Linked DNA regions of Homo sapiens: all the other regions are linked to region 3. The links are contacts of gene promoters, found by promoter capture Hi-C in blood cells and fetal thymus (Javierre and others, 2016). All regions are on one chromosome and are shown on one strand. The core of a region is centred on a gene start or on the middle of the fragment in contact, and the rest is flanking DNA. Distances in the headings are between cores, read along the strand shown. Region 1 has its middle 44 kb from the start of SLC25A5-AS1. Region 2 overlaps STEEP1 (STING1 ER exit protein 1). Region 3 holds the start of UPF3B (UPF3B regulator of nonsense mediated mRNA decay). Region 4 has its middle 23 kb from the start of SLC25A5-AS1.

Region 1 (2,868 bases), core at 167-2,666, 340 kb before region 3:
TATATATAGAAATATATATATAGAAATATATAGAAATATATATATCTTATTATTTTATTTTATTTTGAGATGGAGTCTTGCTCTGTCACCCAGGCTGGAGTGCAGTGGCATGACCTCTGCTCACTGCAACCTCTGCCTCCCGGGTTCAAGTGATTTTCGTGCCTCAGCCTCCCCAGTAGCTGGAACTACAGGCGTGCATCACCACACACAGCTAATTTTTGTCTTTTTTGGTAGACACGGGGTTCCACCATGTTGCCTAGGCTGGTCTCAAACTCCTGGCCTCAAGTGATCCACCCACTTCGGCCTCCCAAAGTGTGGGGATTACAGGCGTGAGCCACAGTGCCCGGCAATATATGGCTTTTTAAGTCTCCTCCACCCTCAGCCTCCAGAGAGCAGACAGACAGGAACGTTCTGGCCTAGCAGACAGCCGTGTGATATTTTTGGTTCCAGTTATTACCGTGGAGATGGTTGCAGCTTTCTAGGCAGATGGAAGCACGCCAGCTGCCCCATCTACAGACACCGCCCTCCACAAATAGCTTATCAAACCCTGAGGATTGCAATATAATAAAGCAGCTGCCCCTGGGAACTCCCACAGCCCTCCCAGGATACACACCGTTGGCCAGCCCCAACCGCTGGTCCACCCCTGGAAGAAGGACTTCTTGGAAAACCTGTTGTTAGAAGGATTTCCTTCTAGGTAGCTGCTGTGCAGCCAGTAACCAGGGCTGCTCTCAGGGAGGATGGCTCCACCTTTCATTGTGCGGGCCTCCCTGTAGCCAGCTCTGCTCCTGTGGAACCTACTGACCTCTTGTGGGCAGAGTGTAAATGCACTGCAGCTGGACAGCCTCAGAGGGTGCGGGCTTCAGCCAGCTCCTCAGTTTGATTTGTCTCTGACAATGCTGGAGTGTGCTGGTCTCTTGACCTCGCTGCGCCTTGGTTTCCTCACCTATACAATGGGGAATAAACAAATATCCCTGTCCTACTTGAAAACATGAGAAAATACTTTTTTTTTTTTTGAGACAGAGTCTCGCTCTGTTGTCCAGGCTGGAGTGCAGCGGCACGATCTTGGCTCACTGCAACCTCCGCCTCCCAGATTCAAGCAATTCTCCTGCCTCAGCCTCCTGAGTAGCTGGGATTACAGGCACGTGCCACCACGCCTGGCTAATTTTTGTATTTTTAGTAGAGATGGGGTTTCACCATGTTGGTCTGGCTGGTTTCAAACTCCTGACTTCGTGATCCGCCCGCCTCGGCCTGCCAAAGTGCTGGGATTACAGGTGTGAGCCACCGCGCCCGGCCGAGAAAAGGCTTTAATTGGGGGGAAATATATGGGTAAATTCAAGATGCCAAGGTCCCAGGTGGGCACTCACAAAATTGCAGTACCTGACCAGAATGATTAGATATTATCCAACAGTGCTCATTAACCTTTTTAAGTCTGCAGCAGACACAGAAAATGGTATTTGTGTTGCACAAAGAAGGAGGCTTCTTGTGGCCAGAGCTGCCCCAGGCTCAGCCCAGCTACCCCAAAGGCTGAGAGCAGCAACATCTCAGGATTCCTGGAATCTTTTTGCAGCACGTGGGGTTGACAGATGTGACTGTATTATACAAGCAGTTGCAGAAGCAGTGAGCATTGTCAGGATTCTCTTTCTCCTCTTTCCATATAAGTCAGTTAACAAAACGTTTGGGTGGGTGGCCCTACCTCTTAGACACCCACAGAGTCCATAGACACAGGTAGAAACCATCATTGCACAGTTGGGCAAGGGTCTTATATGCCTGGCCCAGGCACAAGGCAGGGTTCCACAGGCTCTGGATCCTTTGTGCTTCTTTTGTAATGCAGAGAAATTAAGAGATCACAGCAGATTGTGTTTTGGGATAATCTGGGTCTGTCAGATACCAAAGAGCCTCCTGTCTCCCGTCAAACCTCGTTTCCTTTTCTCCTGCTGTCTACTTGCACTCCACTGACTCATTCATCCAACAAGCACTTAATAAGTGGCAACCAAGCACCAAACCTTGTGCCAGGTCGTGGGATTACAGGATGAAACTGTTGCCTTCAAGGAACTCAGTCTCATAGAAAGACAGACACAGAAAGAGAGGCACTGGATAGGCTGCAAGAGATCCAGTGGATGTCTGTAAAGAGGAGAGGAAGTGCGAGGGCCTAAGTCAACCTCAGAGAGTCAGGGACACTTGTAAAGACACCTGAAGATTAAATAAGGGGTGGGGGAGGGAAGAGTAACCAGGGAGGAACAAGGCAGCTTTGCAGAGAGAAGAACATATGCAAAGGAGGCCCCAAGACATGACAAAATGAAGCATGTTCAAAGCACTTCAAGTAGCCCAGTTGTGCTAGAATATAAAGTGCTAGATGGGGCGGGGGCGATGGAACCAGACAGGCAAGGGCCACATGAGAGGGGTGCCAATTGAAGGGGTTTTTATTCAATACTTCATCATTTATTAAATAGTTCAGCCACAGGCACGGTGGCTTACGCCTGTAATCCCAGCACTTTGGGAGGCTGAGGTGAGTGGATCGTCTGAGGCCAGGAGTTTGAGAGCAGCCTGGTCAACATGGCGAAACGCCTCTCTACAAATATACAAAAATTAGCCGGGCGTGGTGGTAGGCTCCTGTCGTCCCAGCTACTCTGGTGGCTGAGGCATGTGAATCGCCTGAACCCAGGACACAGAGGTTGCAGTGAGCCAAGATCGCACCACTGCACTCCAGCCTGGGCAACAAAGTGAGACTCCGTCTCAAAAATAAATAGATAAATAAATAAATAAAGGCAACAGGGGGCCACTGGGGCATCTTAAACAGAAGAATGCCATGATCCAAATTACATTTTTTTTTGAGATGGAGTCTTGCTATGTTGCTCAGGTCAGCCTTGG
Region 2 (2,875 bases), core at 141-2,640, 300 kb before region 3:
CAGTGAACGGAGATCGCGCCGTTGCACTCCAGCCTATGTAACAGAGTGAGACTGTCTCAAAAAAAAAAAAAAAGTGGAAAACAGAAACGAAATCTCTGAGGGTAAAGCTGAGGCATTCGCATTAAAACAAACAAACAAACAAAAAACTCCTCCAGATGATTCTGGCACACAGCAAAGGTTGAGAATCACTTTGCTAAGGTGTACATGAAAAGCAGAATTTATAAGGCACACATTATATGCACCTTTAGCTATACTGGATGTTGCCAAAGTACTTTCCAAAGTCATTATAACTATTTGTGGTCTTTCTGGTACTGTAGGAGACTTCCAGTTGCTCTTTGACAACACATGGGTATTATTTTCCCAATTGAAGGATAAGGAAATTGGGGGCCTAAAAGATTACTTGCCCAAAGTCACAAAGTGGTACTGCTTGGGATATAACTATACAGACTGTGCTGACCATCATCTTTAATGTTCTGCCTCTCCATTTACAAGTATTACTTATGTCAAAGGTGCTCCAATTCATTGACATCACTGGACCAGGGCACTAATAATATTTTTGGTTCTATATACCCTCTCTGGTCCCACTGGGACTAAATTCAACCCCATACTGAAGGGAGAGATTCACCATACAGAGAATGAACTTCCCCTAGAATCCTGAAGTCGGCCAATCCCGTAAGTTCAAGCTTTCAAAACACATAGAAATATCAAATAAATGGGGCCGCATATTTCTCAATGAGTTAATCTTCAAGTACCAATGACAAACTGGATTTTGTCAAGTTTATAAAAATGTATCTATTTCTAACTATGTGCCAAGAAGCAGGCAAGATGTCTGTCCTAAGGGTTTCAGAAAAATAAGGCAGGGTTCCTGCTCTCAAAAAGTTCATCTTATTGAAATAGTGAGACTTTAATGTAAATGAGGTAAGAATTTCAAGTGGTATGACTTAAAGAAGTGATTAATATGAGCTAGATGTTTGGGATAATTGACCTTGATTTTCTTTCCTATCCTGAATCTCAAGGAATATATGAGATAGGGAAGACTCTGTGACCAAAAACAAAACAAAACATTCTCGGCCGGGCACGGTGGCTCACGCCTGTAATCCCAGCACTTTGGGAGGCCAAGGCGGGTGGATCATTTGAGGTCAGGAGTTCGAGACCAGCCTGGCCAACACAGTGAAACCCCGTCTCTACTAAAAATACAAAAATTAGCCAGGCATGGTGGTGCATGCCTGTAATCCCAGCTACTCGGGAAGCTGAGGCAGGAGAATCACTTGAACCCAGGAGGTGGAGGTTGCAGTGAGCCAAGATTGCGCCACTGCACTCCAGCCTGGGCAACAGAGTGAGACTTCATCTCAAGAAAAAAAATTCTCCATTCTGGCTGTGGTAGCTAGCCTCTAAGGTGGCCCCCAATGATCCTTGTCCCTGGTACTAACACCCTTGTATAGTCACCTCCCACAATGAATAGCGCTGACTTGTGACACCAAAAGGACATCACAGAAACAACTGTGTGTGCCTTCTGAGTCATAGCCATAAAACACATTGCGGCTTTTGCCTTGCTCTCCTGAATTACTTACATTATGGGAAGCCAGCTGCCATGTCATGAGGATACTCAAGCAGCCTTATGGAAAGATCCCTGTGTTGAGAAACTGAGGCTTCTTGCCAACAGTTAGCACTCAACTGCCTACCATATGAGACACCTTGGAAGATGACTCTCCAGCCCTAATCAAGATTTCAGGCCAGGCACGGTGGCTCACACCTGTAATCCCAGCATTTTGGGAGGACAAGGCAGGGGGATTGCTTGAGCCTAGGAGTTCAAGAACAGCCTGGGCAACATAGGAAGACCCTGTCTTTACAAAAAAAAATTAAAAATTAGCCAGGCATGGTGGCACATGCCTATGGTCCCAGCTACTCAGGAGGCTGAGGTGGGAGGATCACTTGAGCCCAGGAGATCGAGACTGCAGTGAGCTGTGATTGTGCCACTGCACTCTAGCCTGCGTGACAGAGTGAGACCCTGCCTCAAAAAAAAAAAAAGACTTCAGATGACTGTTTACATAGTCATCTTCTTAATCGCAGCTTCATGAGAGACCAGAATCACCTAGCTAAGCTTGCTCTTGAATTCCTGACCCACAGAAAATACATAAAATGATAAATGTTTGTTCTTTAAAAAAAAAAAAATCAAGAGAGTACCAGAAGATGAAGATGGACAGATCATAGAGCGCATTCAGGCTTATATTTTTATCCAGCCAACTAGGAGTGTTTTCCTTGTACTCCACAATGATCCCTAAATGAAATCAGATGGGGAGGAAGGAGGAGTCCTTAATGGATTGGGCTAGACTCCTCCCCACTCAGAGCAGCTTTCTGCTTATCAGTCTTATTTATACTTCTGGGTAAGAATTTAATTAAAGAAAGGATTTTTCATCTAAAAATGTTTCAAAGGCATTGCTATAAGTGATGAAGGGTCACTAACAGATTTGAAGCAGGTGACTGACATAATGTGTATTTCAGATAATTCAAGCAGTAGAGGATAGACTGGAGGAGAGCAAAACTAGAGACCAAAAGACCAGGTAAGAGGCCACTTCAGTAGTCTAAGTAAGTGATTTTGGGTACTGAAATAACGGCAGTGCAGCAGGGCTGAACAGGAGGCAGCAGCCACAAAAGAGATTAGAAGGCAGAATCGACAGTACATGGTGAGTGACTAGATGTATGCAGGGGATGATGGTGGGATGGTGGGGACAGATGAGACAAAGAGAGACTGACTCCTAGATTTCTGGCTGGGGCCACTGCATGAATCCTGGTGTCATCATAAGAAGAAGGAAAAGAAGGACTAGCATTTGGCTAATAGTAATAGAGACCTGACTGCAATGGCTTCAACAAAAGA
Region 3 (3,136 bases), core at 1-2,500:
AAGAATGAAAGAAACCTTTTTCATTTACCCCTTTCCTTTTTTTTTTTTTTTTACCTCGTATCATTAGAAAAAAACTCAAAATAATCATGCTCAGGCATAGGTTGAAGATGTTCCTGAAGCTGCTCCTTGGTCAAAGTGGGAGGTAATCTTCGAATTACCACCTTAAGAAATGCATAAGGAAAATAAAATTAGTACAAATCAGTTTTCTGTCATACCTGAAAGAATCACAGTTCCTGAAGAAGGCTGGGCTTTAAAATATGAGATCACTTGTAAAAACCCAGGAGAAAATATTCTTCTGCAGCCCAATGCTCAGAATTAGTCAAACATAATAGTAACGCGGTTTAAAAAAACCCTTGGAAATGAGAACCACCTGGAGCAAGGAAAAATCGCAGGTTTTGCTCTTTACAGCAGCCCTGCAGTTTACCAGGTTTGTGCATCATTTTCGATCACCCATTTTTTAACAGATCTAGTGGCAATAACTTAGTAAGCCAACGCTGGTCTTTGTGGGTGCCACGAAATCTTGATTTAGCAACAAGTTTCTCCCACGTCCAACACATCTTAAAACAAAATCCTTGCCCATTGAACTTAAGAATTCAAAACTCTAACGAATACAAAAAATCTACCCATTGCTCTCAAAATAGGATGCTCTCGATCTACCCTCCTGTACCATTAATCACCCTGCACTCTCCCCCAACTCGCCTCCATGAATAATATTCCCATCCCTCATGTCTCCTTCACTATTTAATATTTCTCCCCAATTACACCTTTAGTTCCTCATTCTTTATACCGTCGCTCTTCCCTCCCATTATCATCTCACAGCTCTGACCTAAACCCTTCCCGTTTGGGGAGTCCCCTCTTTTCCTCACCCCCACCCAGGATTTGGCCGGGAGGGGCTCTCCCCATTTCGGGTGAATGGATGAACCAGGATGATGCGACTTCCATTCAGGCGAAGAGATAGAAGGAGAACCTGAGAAAGAAAGGGGGCAGCCCCATTCCCAGCCATCCTCCCCGCGCTGCGGACTCGTCCCGCCCTCTCCCGGGCCAGCGGCCGACCGGGCACCTTGCTCAGCGCTTCTTTCTTCTCCTTGTTGCGATCCTGCTTATCTTCCCCCTTGGAGCTGTCCCCCGAGGTCCCACCACCGCTGCCTGTGGCCCCGGCGGGGGTTAACAGGGTTACTCGCTTCTCCTTAGGCCTGTGCTCCTTCTCTTCCTTCATGGCTACGTCCCCCGCTGAAGCGGCTTGGCCGGAACGGGGTTACCCCGGGCACAAACGGCTCCCGGGAAGCTCCCGTCAAAGCTCCGCCCCCAACAAATGCCCCTTGTGATAAGTCGGGCCCCACGTTCCATTGGGTCCTGCCAAGCTCTCGCGAGACTTGGGCCTTTCCCAGTGCAAAGGTTTTAACACCTGGTTTTTACTTCCCGCCCGCCAAGTTCCTGCGCCACCCAATCCCCTCGCGGCCCAGACTCCCTCGGGGCCCGCCCCTTCGCGCGTCATTAGCAATTCCGCCATCTTGAAGTGACTCTGTCGGGGACTACAAATCCCGGCATACAAAGCAGCTACCCGCTTTTGTTGGGCGTTCAGGGGCCAGAGCTATCTCAGGGTCCCTGTTTGTGAGTAAATCGAATCCTTTCATCTTCAGAGTTTTCCAGGTCGAAAGATAGGTTCTTCACGCTTAGTTTCCATCAGATAAACTCAATGCCGTCCAAATTTTGCCTCACTAGGGGAGCGACTTGTATTTTTTATCATTGAATTCAGAGGCTTTAGCATTTATTTTCCTACAACTAAAAGAAAAAGCCTAACATTTAAAAAACTTTATTTTCCTTATATTGATTAGGATTTACAGATACTTAGTAAATACTACAATATTAGCCGAGTTCAGTGGCGCACGCCTGTAGTCCCAGCTGCTCGGGAAGGTTGAGAAGAGAGGATCTTGAGCCCAGGAATTCGAGGCTGCAGTGAGCCATGATCGCGCCGCTGCACTCCAGCTTGGGCGACAGAGCGAGACCCTGTATATAAAAAAGAAGGATAATAATAAATAAACACAAGATACTGATATTTAAAGGAGTAATATGACTAAAATATACAAGATTTGTTTTCATCACCTTATTTTAGCAAAAGGATCCTTCTCCCCAGGTACTGATGTCCCACAGGGAGGGGAATAAAAATAAAACCCAACTTGATTTAGTTGCGATCACCATCTTCACTTAAAAAGGGCCAATTTTACATTATTTATAATAACTCCAAACTGGAAACAATCCAAATGTGAATCTAACAGTGATTATGTTGAGTGACAGAATCTAGACACAGAGTACATGTTGTACAATTCCATTTATATGAAATTTTAGAAAAATAAAACCACAGTGATAGAAAGCAGATCAGTCGGCCAGGCGTGGTGGCTCACGCCTGTAATCCCAGCACTTTAGGAGGCCAAGGTGGGTGGATCACCTGAGGTCAGGAGTTCGAGACCAGCCTGGCTAACTTGGCGAAACCCTGTCTCTACTAAAAACAAAAAAAATTAGCAGGGCGTGGTGGCACATTCCTGTAATCCCAGCACTTTGAGAGGCCGAGGCCGGCGGATCACCTGAGATCAGGAGTTCGACACCAGCCTGGCCAACTTGGTGAAACCCTGTCTCTACTAAAATACAAAAATTATCTGGGCATGGTGGCAGGCGCCTGTAGTCCCAGCTATTTGGGAGGCTGAGGCAGGAGAGTCACTTGAACCTGGGAGGCGGAGGTTGCAGTGAGCCGAGGTTGTGCCACCGCACTCCAACCTGGGTGACAGAGTGAGACTCCATCTCAAAAAGAGAGAGAGACACAGACACCCATAGAGGACAGAAACCAAATTAAAGATGCAATAGGAGCCCAAGGCAGAAAGCTGCCTAAGGGCCAACTCCCATTTTTGCCGACCTCTAGAATATATTCCCCTGACTCTGCACTTAAATTTTCTCACTCCAATTGTCCAGCCTATTCTTGGATTCCTATTCCTGTGGCTAAAACGGTTTCCCTGTATTTGACATCTGTTACTCTTGCTTTCAGTACCTGGCCGTTCTTATGAGCCTTGTTTATGCATCTGCCTCTGACCTACTGCTTAGCTCTGCACTTGCATGTTGGTAGTGTATGCCTCTGTTTTGGTGT
Region 4 (2,854 bases), core at 317-2,816, 360 kb before region 3:
AGAGCCCGGTCTAAGGTTTTCATTTCCATGCTGGGTTTTGTTTTTTTGTTTGTTTGTTTGTTTAGACAGAGTCTTGCTCTGTCACCCAGGCCAGAGTGCAGTGGCGCTATCTCAGCTCACTACAACCTCAACCTCCCGGGTTCAAGCGATTCTCCTGCTCCCAAGTAGCTGGGACTACAGGCACACACAACCATACCCAGCTACATTTTTGTATTTTTAGTAGAGACAGGGTTTTGCCATGTTGGCCAGGCTGGTCTCGAACTCCTGACCTCAAGTGATCTGCCCACCTCAGCTTCCCAAAGTGTTGGGATTACAGGTGTGTGCCACCGCACCTGGCCCATCCTGGTTCTATAAGTTTAACTTCCCCCGTGAGTAGATCTTTTTAGGGCGCTGACAGAGCCAGCAGAGCTGGGCTCATTTCCTGTTTGCCCAGATGCTAAGCTTCCATATAACCCTTGGTTACACAGGCCCTTGGAAGGAAGCCTTGGCCTAAATAGCCCCAAACAAGTGATAATAGAAAAGCCTTTTATATTTAGCTTTTGGATATTGTAAGTGATTTTTGGCAGCATATTTCTCTTCCTAAATAGAGCTGGATTGGGCTAATTAAAATTAACTTTATGGGATGCAGAATAGGAGAGTGGTTAAGAGCCTTTATAGACCAGTGGTATGGGCGCTCAGCCACACAGTCTGGTTTTCAGTCCAATCACCACCATTTGCTAGCTGTTTATCTCCCTGAGTTTCTTCATCTGCAAAACACAGATATAGCCAGAATACCTTTCTCATTGGGTATCTGTGAGGATTGCATGAAGACTAATACATATAACACAGCCTGATGTCTGGCCCCTGGAAGCATTCAATAAAGGGTGGCAGTCATAGTTATCATGACATTATTTCCCTAGTAGACCCACTGGGCTTTGGATAAAGGAAGTCTAAAGGTAGCCTGGGGGAGGGGTATATGAGGGAAAATCAGGCCAGGATTAAAAACTGTCAGCATAGGCCCGGCACGGTAGCTCTCATCTGTAATCGTACCACTTTGGGAGGCAGAGGCAGGTGGATCAGTTGAGGTCAGCAGTTTGAGACTAGCCTGGCCAACATGGCAAAACCCTGTCTCTACTAAAAAATACACAAATTAGCCAAATGTTGTGGCAGGTGCCTGTAGTCCCAGCTACTTGGGAGGCTGAGGCAGAAGAATTGTTTGAACCCGGGAGGCAAAGGTTGCCGTGAGCCAAGATCGTGCCTGGGTGACAGAGTGAGACTCTGTCTCGCAATAAATAAATAAATACATACATAATAATAATAAATTGTCAGCCTATAATCCAGAAAAAAACAATCCACCTGTGGATAATCGAGTTATCCACTTCTTATTCTTTTTTTTTTTTTTTTTGAAACAGGGTCTCACTGTTGCCCAGGCTAGAGTGCAGTGGTGTGATCAGAGCTCACTGCGGTGTTGAACTCCTGGCCTCAAGTGATCCTCCTGCCTCAGTTTCCCAAAGTGTTGGGATTACAGGAGTGAGCCACCACTCAACGGCCAGAACGTGATTTCTTGACCCTTTTTCTCAGGATTGTGCTAGCTCCTCAGCAGGTTTAGGCTAGAGTGAGCAGGTGGCATTGCCCCAAGACCAGTTGGATGCAGAGTCTGTCAGGAATCACTTCTCTATGCAAGGGAGTAGGTCTGGCTAGGCACAGGTATGTGCTTGCAAGGTAAATAGTTGTTACTGACACAGTCACCTTTGTCTGTGAGGGGAGGAGGAGGCCAATGCCTATGGAAGGACAAAACTCCTTCAGCCTTAGGCAGGTCTTACCTGCCCCTGCATTCTTGTCAGGTTATATATTGCTCTTGTGATGTGTTTGGAAAAAGACAAGAAAACATACTTTTTTTTTTTTCTTCTAGCCAGGACCTCTGGCTAGAGGTAGAGGGACTTCTTAGACGTCACTATCATGGCTGAAGCCTCAATTCTGTCCTAAGCCAGGAAACCAAATTGGTAAATTTGGTCTTTTTTTTTTTTTGACAGGGTCTCACTCCTGTCTCCCAGGCTGGAGTGCAGTGGCACAATCTCAACTCACTGCAGCCTCGATAGCCCAGGCTCAAGTGATCCTCCCACCTCAGCCCCTCAAGTAGCTGGAATTACAGGCATGAGCTACCACGGCCGGCTAATTTTTGTATTTTTAGTAGAGACAGGGTTTCTCCATGTTGGCCAGGCTGGTCTCGAACTCCTGACCTCAGGCGATCTGCCGGCCTGGGCCTCCAAAGTGCTGGGATTACAGGCGTGAGCCATCATGCCTGGGCTAGTAAATTCAGTCTTTATATCATGGTTCCTCCATTGTTGTCAATAACTCTAGCACTGTGAACATGCTTTTGTGAGCTGATGCTGCTATTTACTTCTCTATTTACACATTTACGTATTTGTGTCTCCCTGATACCACATTTATCTTTTGAATGGGTAATATATTGGTAATATATCCTCGGATACCAAATTGACAAGGTATAAAGGGTTTACAGTAACAAGTTAGTTTCCCTCCCACCCCTGTTCCCTCGCCACCCACAGGTAATCTCCATGACCACATTCTGGTGTTACCTTCCAGAGATAAGCTATGCCTATCCAGGCATCTATTATTTTAGGTGGTAGCATTCTTACTCATATTTGTATCCCAGTGCGTAGAGGAGTGCCAAACAAAAGTATGCTGTCAAAAAAAGCTTGTTGGTTGCATGTTTGTTGCTCCAGATTTGTTGCCCTCATCCCAGCCATGGGTGCCTGAACTCTCTAGTTGAAATTTTCATGAGCTTATCAAAATTTTACCTGGGGCCAAGCGCGGTGGCTCATGCCTCTAATCCCAGCACTTTGGGAGGCCGAGG

The links. Contacts are between HindIII fragments. The CHiCAGO score rates a contact against its expected background, and 5 or more counts as called.
Region 1: a contact is called between a fragment that was not itself captured here and the fragment with the promoter of UPF3B in region 3, in 6 of 17 cell types (non-activated CD4 T cells, total CD8 T cells, monocytes and 3 more). The highest score is 10.3, in non-activated CD4 T cells.
Region 2: a contact is called between a fragment that was not itself captured here and the fragment with the promoter of UPF3B in region 3, in 1 of 17 cell types (non-activated CD4 T cells). The highest score is 5.4, in non-activated CD4 T cells.
Region 4: a fragment that was not itself captured here is called in contact with the fragment with the promoter of UPF3B in region 3 in 6 of 17 cell types (total B cells, fetal thymus, activated CD4 T cells and 3 more); the score reaches 7.8 in total B cells.

What each region holds. Positions count from the first base shown.
Region 1 is chrX:119,511,866-119,514,733 of GRCh38, forward strand. No RefSeq gene overlaps it. Among named protein-coding and RNA genes, the nearest start is that of SLC25A5-AS1, 44 kb to the left of the region's middle. RefSeq lists a silencer at 661-955. The HindIII fragment of the contact is 4,998 bases long and covers 1-2,868 here.
Region 2 is chrX:119,553,094-119,555,968 of GRCh38, forward strand. The region is part of intron 2 of STEEP1 (STING1 ER exit protein 1); the gene reads right to left. Among named protein-coding and RNA genes, the nearest start is that of STEEP1, 11 kb to the right of the region's middle. The HindIII fragment of the contact is 1,418 bases long and covers 682-2,099 here.
Region 3 is chrX:119,851,713-119,854,848 of GRCh38, forward strand. It overlaps UPF3B (UPF3B regulator of nonsense mediated mRNA decay), which reads right to left and starts at 1,251. Exons shown (of 11, transcript NM_080632.3): 1 at 1,061-1,251; 2 at 55-161. The coding sequence starts at 1,216. RefSeq lists an enhancer at 1,226-1,285. The HindIII fragment of the contact is 8,775 bases long and covers 1-3,136 here.
Region 4 is chrX:119,491,019-119,493,872 of GRCh38, forward strand. No RefSeq gene overlaps it. Among named protein-coding and RNA genes, the nearest start is that of SLC25A5-AS1, 23 kb to the left of the region's middle. The HindIII fragment of the contact is 2,254 bases long and covers 440-2,693 here.